Linked DNA regions of Homo sapiens: region 1 is linked to region 2. The links are contacts of gene promoters, found by promoter capture Hi-C in blood cells and fetal thymus (Javierre and others, 2016). All regions are on one chromosome and are shown on one strand. Each heading gives the region's core, a stretch centred on a gene start or on the middle of the fragment in contact. The rest is flanking DNA. Distances are from core to core; before and after follow the strand shown. Region 1 has its middle 45 kb from the start of INTS13. Region 2 holds the start of MED21 (mediator complex subunit 21).

Evidence for each region. Contacts are between HindIII fragments. The CHiCAGO score rates a contact against its expected background, and 5 or more counts as called.
Region 1: a contact is called between a fragment that was not itself captured here and the fragment with the promoter of MED21 in region 2, in 1 of 17 cell types (neutrophils). The highest score is 5.1, in neutrophils.

Annotation. Positions count from the first base shown.
Region 1 is chr12:26,890,596-26,895,887 of GRCh38, forward strand. No RefSeq gene overlaps it. Among named protein-coding and RNA genes, the nearest start is that of INTS13, 45 kb to the right of the region's middle. The HindIII fragment of the contact is 5,632 bases long and covers 474-5,292 here.
Region 2 is chr12:27,021,275-27,026,316 of GRCh38, forward strand. It overlaps MED21 (mediator complex subunit 21), which reads left to right and starts at 1,284. Exons shown (of 4, transcript NM_004264.5): 1 at 1,284-1,347. The coding sequence starts at 1,306. RefSeq lists an enhancer at 1,316-1,605. The HindIII fragment of the contact is 6,677 bases long and covers 1-3,811 here.

The DNA of each region.
Region 1 (5,292 bases), core at 2,040-4,539, 130 kb before region 2:
ATAATAGTTGCCCTCTCTTCCCTCCTAGTTGTTGGATGTAGCAATGAGAGGATGTATGTGAGAATACCACATAAACTCTGAAGGAATACATAAAAATAAGGGATTGCTAGTCAAGCAGTAATCCATGCTGTGTTTTTGTTTTAAATCTTCAGCATTAGGGCCGAAGGAGGTTCAAAGGAATTTTCTGCCATTATAGCTGAAATTACTCTTAAAGCAGCTGCTGAAGCTCTTGGTGTCCAAGAGCGTCTCTTTTTGGTATACACGCTGGCCGACTATTTCCACTTAGATCCTTCTTCAGTGACGATGAGCCCATTCAGAAGCAAGATAAACAAGCATCTGTGGAATCTTCCAGTGATGGCTGAAGATCCTAGGCATGTCATCACTTTACAAGGTGACCTTGTACAATTCCACTGGCCTATGGGATATAAGGTTTCCACAGTACTGCCAGAGCTAATGCAAGTGTTTCAACAGCAAGCTTCCTCTAAGTATCTTGCCCAAGTTTTAGGATATACAATTGAAGGTTGGAGATTACTTCAAAAATCTCAAACAAGAAGACCCAGGCAGTTAAGCTCAATCCCCACTTCAACGATGGGGCCAACTGAACTCATTACAAAGCTAAGCAAACCTTTCTCTGTTTTGTTACCCACCTCAGTGACTCACTGGATGCCCAAAGATGAGGCATCGCCAATTCCCAGCTTATGTGCTGCCTTGAGACAGATCACTCCTATCCCTGATCCCAACTTTATTCCAAATACTGCAAGGAGTTTATTCCAAAAGTGCACAAAGACTAAAAGGCCACAGCATACAGCAGTGTCACAGAATTCGCTACAGGAAATGTCCTTGACTACAAACCTTGAATATTCTGCTGCTTTTGCTGAAGTCACTCCTTCGATGGTACTAATGGCTACTGCATTCACAGATTTTGACTTCCTTCAGGGTAGAACTTCTACAGTGTCAATGTCAGTAGAAAATCTAGACTCTCCAGAGTGGGAACTAAAAGGACACACCCTAATCCACGGGACAGAAATACAAAAGCACACTATTTTACCCGACCTTGTCTCAGAATCAATTAGTCAAGCCGGGTATTCACAAGCTCTCCTTTCATTATCCAAGTACTCTCATTTTCTTAAGCCCTCAGTAATGCAGGATATAGCCATGCCTTCAGAAGTACTGTCTTCAATGACAACATTTCTCAGCAAATGGAGTGGCTCTGTTCCAGTCGACTGGGAAAAATCTGTACATTCACCTGACAGTCTCTTGACACCTACAGCATCAGCAAGGGAGACACTGGCAGCCTCCCATTTTCCCCTTGAGTTCAGTCAAGTACTCCTGTCAAATCAGCTAAGTCAACAGCACCTTCATGAGCATAATCACACATCTGACACTCCTGAAGTTTCTCAACAGATTCATTCATTCATCATTCCTACAGAAATAATTTCAGCTCCTGGCATGAGCATAAATACAAAATTTGTATGGAATAGTACATCTGACTCAACTCTTTTGCCCATGGAAACTGATTGTTTCATCAGCAAACTCGTAGATGAAGGCTCATTGTGTGATGGTGATGTGATTATCAAAACTCAGTCATATTCTAAGGAGACCCCATCATTTACTCAATTACATGACTTATCTGAACTGTCCCTTTCTGAGGTGTCTAAATTTTCAAATGCATTTGAGTTACCTGAAAATATGGGCTCAAAAACTATGATGCATATTCTTAGTGACTGGTTCTGAGGCACAGAACATTTAGCTTTCAGTGGATTCTCAAGAACTAGCCAGATTTTGCCAGGCAATACAGTACTTAACTTGGATTCTACTGACATGTTTATAAGTTACCCACATACCTCCAAAAACGTATTAACAGCAAGATACAGGACTATCTCTGACTTTAATAAGGTACAAGGTAAGATTGTGGGAGTTGTTGAGCTTTCTCTTTGCCATATTTTTCAGAGAATATTTATACTAACAAGCAGCAACCAACTAAATAATTAAAACAGAGTAACCTAGTGGTAACCGTGTGATGAAATTACATGTGCTTGATTTTCTTCTCTACATTTGTCTATATTTTCCAACTTTTTCAAGGAATAGAGTTGTTTTTAGGAAGAAAAAACTTTAAGAATATATCATGTAAGAAAAGTCAACAACAGGCCGGGTGTGGTGTTTCATACCTGTAATCCCAGCACTCTGGGAGGCCAAGGCAGGAGGATCACCTGAGGTCAGGAGTTTGAGACCAGCCCGGCCAACATGGTGAAACCCCGTCTCTACTAAAAGTACAAAAAATTAGCCAGGCGTGGTGGCAGGTGCCTGTAATCCCAGCTACTCCGGAGGATCAGGCAAGAGAATCGCTTGAACCCGGGAGGCAGAGGTTGCAGTGAGCTGAGATCGCGCCATTGCACTCTAACCTGGGCAACAAGTGCGAAACTCCATCTCAAAAAAAAAAAAAAGAAAAGTCAATAACAAAATACAGTACCCATCTTATGCCTTATACACATTATTTAATGTGTATTGTGTTTACAATAGATTGATCAAAGACTCACAAACCTGGAAGGAGCTTCAAGCCATTACTCTGTCCAGTTATTATTATTCCTAAATCATTCATCTGTTGCAGTCTTTATTTTATTTTTGAGACGGAGTTTCGCTCTTGTTGCCCAGGCTGGAGTGCAATGGTGTGATCTTGGCTCACTGCAACCTCTGCCTCCCGGGTTCAAACAATTCTCCTGCCTCAGCTTCCCGAGTAGCTGGAATTACAGGCATCCACCACCAAGCCTGGCTAATTTTTTTTGTATTATTAGTAGAGATGGGGTTTCACCATGTTGGCCAGGGTGGTCTCAAACTCCTGACCTCAGGTGATCCATCTGCCTCGGCCTCCCAGAGTGCTGGGATTATGGCGTGAGCCACCGTGCCTGGCCCTGTTGCAGTCTTACAGACCACCAGAGTTAGAAAAATGCTTGCTAACAGATTCAAACTCTATAACTAAAGTTAAAACCATCCTCTTTCATTTAGTTTATTTATCTCATGATATACTGCAAACAGGCAGTATGATGATTAATAACTCAGTATCTATAGTGAAACGGGTTTGAAATCTAGCTGTATAATTTACTATATGTGTAATATTAGGTATTCACATTAGTATATTACTTCTATCATTTATAAACTGAGGATAATTATTCCAATATATTTGTTGTGAAGATAAAATGAAGTATGTACTTAGCACAGTGCCTGGCACATGGTTCATTAAATGCAAGCTATCATCTCTGCTCATCTTCTCTTCTCTGAACTAGCTAACTCATATCAGAGTGATTGCTTTAGAATTTGTTTCAAATCAAAACATACTTGTATGGTAATTTCCATGGAAATTTTCATTGATCTTTAATTTGGGGGAGATTTCCTTGTTTAAATTAAATGTCTAAATTAAGGGCCAGGTGTGGTGGCACACACCTGAATCCTAGCACTTTGGGAGGCTGAGGCAGGAAGATTGCTTGAGCCCATGAAACTGCGACCAGCCTGGGCAACATAGTGAGAGCCTGTCTCTACAAAAACAAACAAAAATTTAAAAATTAAAAAAAATAGCAGGCGTAGTGGCGCATGACTGTAGTCCCAACTACTCAGGAGGCTGAGGGGGAGGATCACTTGAGCCTGGGAGGTTGAGGCTGCAGTGAGCCATGACTGTGCCACTGCACTCCAGCCTGGGCAACAGAGTGAGACCCTGTCTCAAAAAACAAAAACAAAACAACAACAACAACAAAGGGGTTCCTTTGGAGTAACTACAAAGTTTACAGAAATATTAGACAAGGTACAACCAGTTTGCCTGTCACTAAATATGACTGGCTTCAAGTAACATAGATGCTGAGAACATGTGCTCTGCATTCTGAATCTCAGAAACCTGAGACCACGTCACACCCAGGTAAGCAATTCTATCATCATGGAATGGTAAGGCTGATGGACCTTGATGCTGTTTGAAATTCAGTAGAAACAGATCTCCCTAGTAGTTACGACTTACATTGTTAATCAATCCCATTAAATATGCAACAGTACTTAGATGTCACTTTCAAATAGTCTATTTATCAAGTGACTGCACTACTCTATCTTCTTGATTCATTGAGTTTTTTTCAGTAGCGTGATACTCTTCTTTCCAACTTAATGCTCCCCACAATATCTAAAGCCACCTGCCTTTGTTATATTGCACCATAGCCCCATTTTTGTGATGTTATCTCATCTTCCTCAGAAAACACCAAAATGTATCTATGCAGAGCTTGAAATGTTTTGTAGTTTGAGATTTAAATGTTAATTGAAATTGGAGTACTAGTTTGTTGCTATGATTCTGTTCAATTATGTAACTTACGTGTACCATTATCTAACTTATATGTACTGATCTTAAAACTTTTCCTGGGCCGGGTGCGGTGGCTCACGCCTGTAATCCCAGCACTTTGGGAGGCCGAGGTGGGCAGATCACGAGGTCAGGAGATCGAGACCATCCTGGCTAACACGGTGAAACCCCGTCTCTACTAAAAATACAAAAAAAAAAAAAAAAAATTAGCTGGGCGTGGTGGCGGGCACCTGTAGTCCCAACTACTCGGGAGGCTGAGGCAGGAGAATGGCGTGAACTCGGGAGGCAGAGCTTGCAGTGACCGAGATCATGCCACTGCACTCCAGCCTGGGTGACAGAGCGAGACTCCATCTCAAAAAAAAAAACAAAAAACTTTTCCTGTTCAACTTTCAACCAAAAAACAAAAAAATCAGTTTAAGAATTTAGGCTGTTTGCCAAAATATTGTTTTTCTGAAGTCCCCTAAACCAGATTTGATTAGTTAGTAATACTAATATCTTTGTGTATATGTGTGTGTATATATACATCTTTGTGTGTATATATATATCTTTGTATATATATATATTTGTGTGTGTGTATATATATATAGAGAGAGAGAGACAGAGAGAGGGAGACAGAGAGGAGATCAATAGAAGTGTTCCTACTGCCCTATGCAAAACTAAGGGAGGAAACAAGTTAACCATCAAGACAACCTTAAGCATTTAAATAAAGAGTAGTATTTGTTGAAATTTATTTCTTGTTTGCTTCTTCTAGGTCAACCCAACACATTTCCAACAGTTGTTAATTCAATCCAATTGATAACAGCAACTGTTGGGCACACATTTCATTTCCCGATCCCTCCTGACACATTTTATGACCAGGAAGATGGCAACTCAACTCACTTGACACTTGAAATAAAATCAGTAAATGAGTATCCTTCGGGCCCAGAAAGCTGGCTGCAATTTAACATGACTCATCAAATATTGTA
Region 2 (5,042 bases), core at 34-2,533:
ATCTTGGACAACTGCAAAACCTTCCTTAGTGAGTCCTTGGCTTATTCATCTTTGCAAATTGAGCACTGGATATACTTCCTGGCATGTGGCAGCCATTCCGTAAGGTACACTCTCAAGTGAGGGTGGGAGGAGAAGGTTGTAGAATCCCCCCAAGTTACAGTGAAAACAAATTACAGAGTGATTTCTCATTAGTCCCATTATGGGGAACATGCCTCATCCACGTTCTTAATGAGGCTCCAGTAAGTCTGTAGACTGTTTGGGGCTGAGGGTGGGGCATTGGTGTGAAGCAGAAGTGGTGCTTCACAGTAAGTGTTGGGATAAATCCAACAAGCTGAGTTCCCCAGGGACTGTGTCTTCCACCTTCCCCGCAGCCACAGGAAGGTAATCACGGATAATCAGCCTGAGAAAGAGGATATGAGAGTTTTTTGAAGTCTACAAACCTGTTATTTGCCGATTCCAAACTCATTTCTTACCAGACTATCCTCAGGCTAAATTTCCTTAAATACCAAGTTTCGATTATCACTTTTCACACTTAAACTCTCAATAAGTCCCAACTCTAAATCTAAATTGTGCAGCTAATTTTTCTTGGCCGAGCACGGTGGCTCACGCCTGTAATCCCAGCACTTTGAGAGGCCGAGGCGGGCGGAGCACGAGGTCGGGAGATCGAGACCATCCTGGCTAACATGGTGAAACCCCGTCTCTACTAAAAGTACAAAAAAAAAAAAAAAATGCCGGGCGTGGTGCGGACGCCTGTAGTCCCAGCTACTCCGGAGGCTGAGGCAGGAGAATGGCGTGAACCCGGGAGGCGGAGCTGGCAGTGAGCCGAGATCGCACCACTGCACTCCAGCCTGGGCGACAGAACGAGACTCCGTCTCAAATAAATAAATAAATAAATAAATAAATAAATAAAAATAAATATATTTACTCTTCAATTTGGTCAATAAATAAACACGAGAGGGTACGAGAAATTACTTAAAAAAAAAAAATCCCCGCAGAATCCAACAATCTCTGAAGCCTTTAACACCTAACAACCCCAAGGGGAGTATTTCGGCTCTTGGACTGTATTTCAAAGCGATTGGACCCCAGACCATTCCCCCAGTTACTCAAAAGATCCAGCCTCTCCTCAGGTGTAGCCCGCTCTAGAAAGGCCGCCTCGGGAGTACCACCCACTCCTGACGGGGCGGGGAGTTCTCTCCGACCCCACCCGTTCCAAGGACGCAGCCCTGTGATTGGCCATGACGCGTGCCAGAGCTGCCCAGTCGCGGAAGAGCAGCTGTTTTGGCGTCTGTTTGCTGCGGTAGGAACATGGCGGATCGGCTCACGCAGCTTCAGGACGCTGTGAATTCGGTGAGGAATTTCATTCGATTAGCCTCTGTCTTTCTCTTTCTTGAGGTAAAGCAAGGGAGGAAAGGGGCCCAAGAGGCAAAACTTGAAAGTGGGGAGCGGACTGAGAGACAGGGCTTCGGCATAAAGCGCTCTCTCGGGAGGCGCCACCGCGAACTCGGAGGTTTGAGGCCGGCTGCCGGGCGGTGCTTGAAGGTGCGGGAGGGAGCAGACTCTTTCGCTTGAGGAGACCGGGAAGATCGTTCTTGTCCGGGTGAGGCCGCCAGGACTTGTGGGCTGCGCGGTCCTGTCGTGTTCCCTGAGGACAGTTTTATTTTCTTGTCAGTGGTGCTTACGGGTTCTCTTTCTTTTGGGGGTTGGGAGGAGAAGCAGGAGCTTTTTTCTTTCCTCATCAATTTTAATCCACCAAGGGAGATCTCATGCTCTGGATGACTGGGTTTTTGTAATGAAATGTCAGCCGAGAGTATTCCTTCACCAGCGCTTTCAGGTTGGTGCGGGAGCGATGCTGAGGTGAGGTGAGAGATTTTCTTTCATCTTAGCTCGTTCCTTTGGGCCCAGAGTATCCTTCCATCTCTTGCCTCTTGGCCATCCCTCAGAATACATCAGTTTGGGGACATCTTTATGATAGGAAATCTTCTAATCCTCGTATGTCTTTCCGCTTATTTGAGTCTTTTTTCTTTTCTTTTTTTTTTTTTTTTTACTTTGGAGACAGTGCCTTTCGCCCAGGCTGGAGTGCAGTGGCGCGATCTCTGCTCACTGCATCCTCCGCCTCCCGGGTTCAAGCGATTCTCCTGTCTGAGCCAAAGTAGCTGGGATTACAGGCGCCCTCCACCACGCCCGGCTAATGTTTGTATTTTTAGTAGAGACGGGGTTTCACCATGTTGTCCAGGCTGGTCTCAAACTCCCGGCCTCAAGCGATCCTCCCGCCTCGGCCTCCCATAGTGCTGGGATTACAGGTGTGAGCCACCGTGCCCGGCCTACAAGTCCTTTTTAATGTCTCCCCCAAATTCTACTCTCTATTAAAGGCCAAGTCTAGTAAGTAGCTCCCCAGCTTTGTTCCTTCTGGTTATTTTTCCTCCACACTATGCCTGAGTGGAAAGTAGAAGCAAAGCCAGAGGATGCGCAGTCATGGGCCCCTAATGAAGGGGTCATGTTCTGAGAAATGCATGGTTTTGGCGATAACTTTTTTTTTTGTTTTAATAAGTAGAAGTACAATGTAAAATAACGATAAAACAGTAATACATAAACCAGTAACAAAGTCATTTAGTATCATTATCAAGTGTCATGGACTGCACATAATTGTATGTGCTATGCTTTCATACACTGGCAGTGTGGTAGGTTGATTTACAGCAGCATCACCACAAGCACTAAGGAACGCATTGCGCTACAGCGTTAGTACTGCTACGATGTCACTAGGCAATAAGAATTTTTCAGCTTTATTATAACCATAGGGGACTGACATAATATGTGCATCCCGTTGACCAAGACGTCAGTGGGTATTCCCATGCGGCAATGGGTGTACTTATTACCATTACGAGTTAGATTGTTTTCTGCTAAATAGTTTTCCATTGATAGTTATGTTTCTCATTGTCTGATTGTGATTTAATGTCCTAGATAAGGGGCTAGAGAGAAAACATGCTGATAGGAAAACCTAAGTACCTGGTTTCCTTGCCAGTTTTTTTTTTCCTCACTGTAAGCTAATAACTTGGCATTTTTCTTAATACATCAGAATTTGTACACTTGAAGAGTGTGAATCTACTTGTGATAAAACTGATCTACCCTGGGTGAATAACACTAGTTTTTAAGCTGAGAGGACCAGCCTCTAAGTGTTGAATTCACCAAGATAAATTCTACCCTGCAGGGACTTGCCTGGGCTGCCAGCCAGCCTTCCTCAGGGAACTACTCCTTTGAGGTTTTACGAAATCAAATTGTAATGATGCTGCTGGATAGAAATCTTATTTTAGGGAAAATTTTGCATATTCATACATGTCTTGTAACTAGAAGGATAATAAGGACAGAGTGAATATGGCCTTAACTCCAGGTTAGGCATAATGATAATTGGATTTTGGAGAAAAGCCTTTAGGATAACTAGTATGAGTGCCTACTGTGTGTAAGCACCATCATGTTTACAAAGAGATACTCCTAAAGGAGGTTAAAAAATGTCAAATACTCAGGAGACATTTAAGTGATGGAAAAACAGTATGTGGTTAGGGAGTTATAATGAATTGAGTATTTTCAGCTTCAGGTTCTGATGTAAATTGGAATATGGAGTGATGTGAACCAAAATAGGGGGAATCTTCTTAGCATTTATCCTAATCAGAATTATTTGTATAACTTTTAACATTTGTTCTACCCTCTGAAAACCGTGAGTGCAGAAGCTATGTCGCATTCACTATGTCTCTGTAGTGTTTATATGCAGTACTTTAGTTATTTTCCATAAATTTTTGTTGACTAAATGGATCTTAAAAGCTTTTGAAGGATGGAAAAGATAGACACTGTGTTGAATATTTTTTTGTGTGTGTTTCCTCTATTACAACAATGCTATAATAGGAGAATGTATCCAATTTAAAAATGAAAAATGCTGCTTGGATTAATAGAGCTAGGATCAGGATCTAGGTTTGTATAGCATCTGAGCACTTATTGCTCCATTACAATTAGCAAAACCTGGGCAAAGCCATTTAGTCATAAGTGACTTTATGACTAGTTAGATAAATATGAAGGAGTAGTGGAAAACGAGTCAGTAGAGTTGACTTAGATTATTGAAAGCTTCAAAACAGCCTGAGTTGGAGATTTATCTTGAAGACAGTGGTGGAGTAAGCTTAAATGTTTTGATCAGGTTAAAATAAATAACCTGGTGAACTGGAAAACAACAAGAAGACTATTGTAATAATTCTGGTGTGAGATAATTGGTTGAACTAAGCAACAGTGATAGAAGGAAAAGAGAAAGATTTGTAGTATTAGCAGAATATGAAGATCAAAGGAAAGTAAGAATCTGAAGTTAGATTGGTTGACTAGGAGACTTTCAATACAAATTAAATATTAAAAAGAGGAAACAGTTGCCTTTGAGTTCTGTCATTGAAACAATGGCAGAGAAACCCAGTGGAAATACTTATTAGAAATAGGAGGTTTGAGAGGTCAAGACTAGGTGAGAGAAATTGGTAGGGAAGATAGGTGTATTTAATTTGGAGATGGTAAGGAATTGCTATTCCCAATCTTTAAAAGTACTTAAGGAATACTTTTAGAGTACAAGAGTTTACAAATTGAGTCTTGAACAAATACATTTCTGCTTACTTAAGGTGCTTTTCTGAGCAGCCTCTTCCTCACTATTTCTTTACACTTGTAACTACTCCAGTCTCAGAAAAGGAATCATATACTTTGTGCATGAGAAATAAATTTTTATTAAACATGGTGCCATAGATATTTACAAGTCAAATTTGCTCTTTTCCATCACTATCCCCAAAAAGTCTTTACTTGTGGCTTACAATAAGTATTGGCCAATATTCTCTTATCATTTTACTATCACAAGAAAAGAAAGATTATTTTGTATTTCAACTGTTTCAACTAGATTTATATCAAATTTAACTTTACCTAGATTGATACCAAACTTAGTTTCTTTGCAGAATTAAAACGTTTAATCAACATTAATAATAACTGGCTTATTTTATCAACAATCACTCCTTTCTGTTTTATTCCCTTGC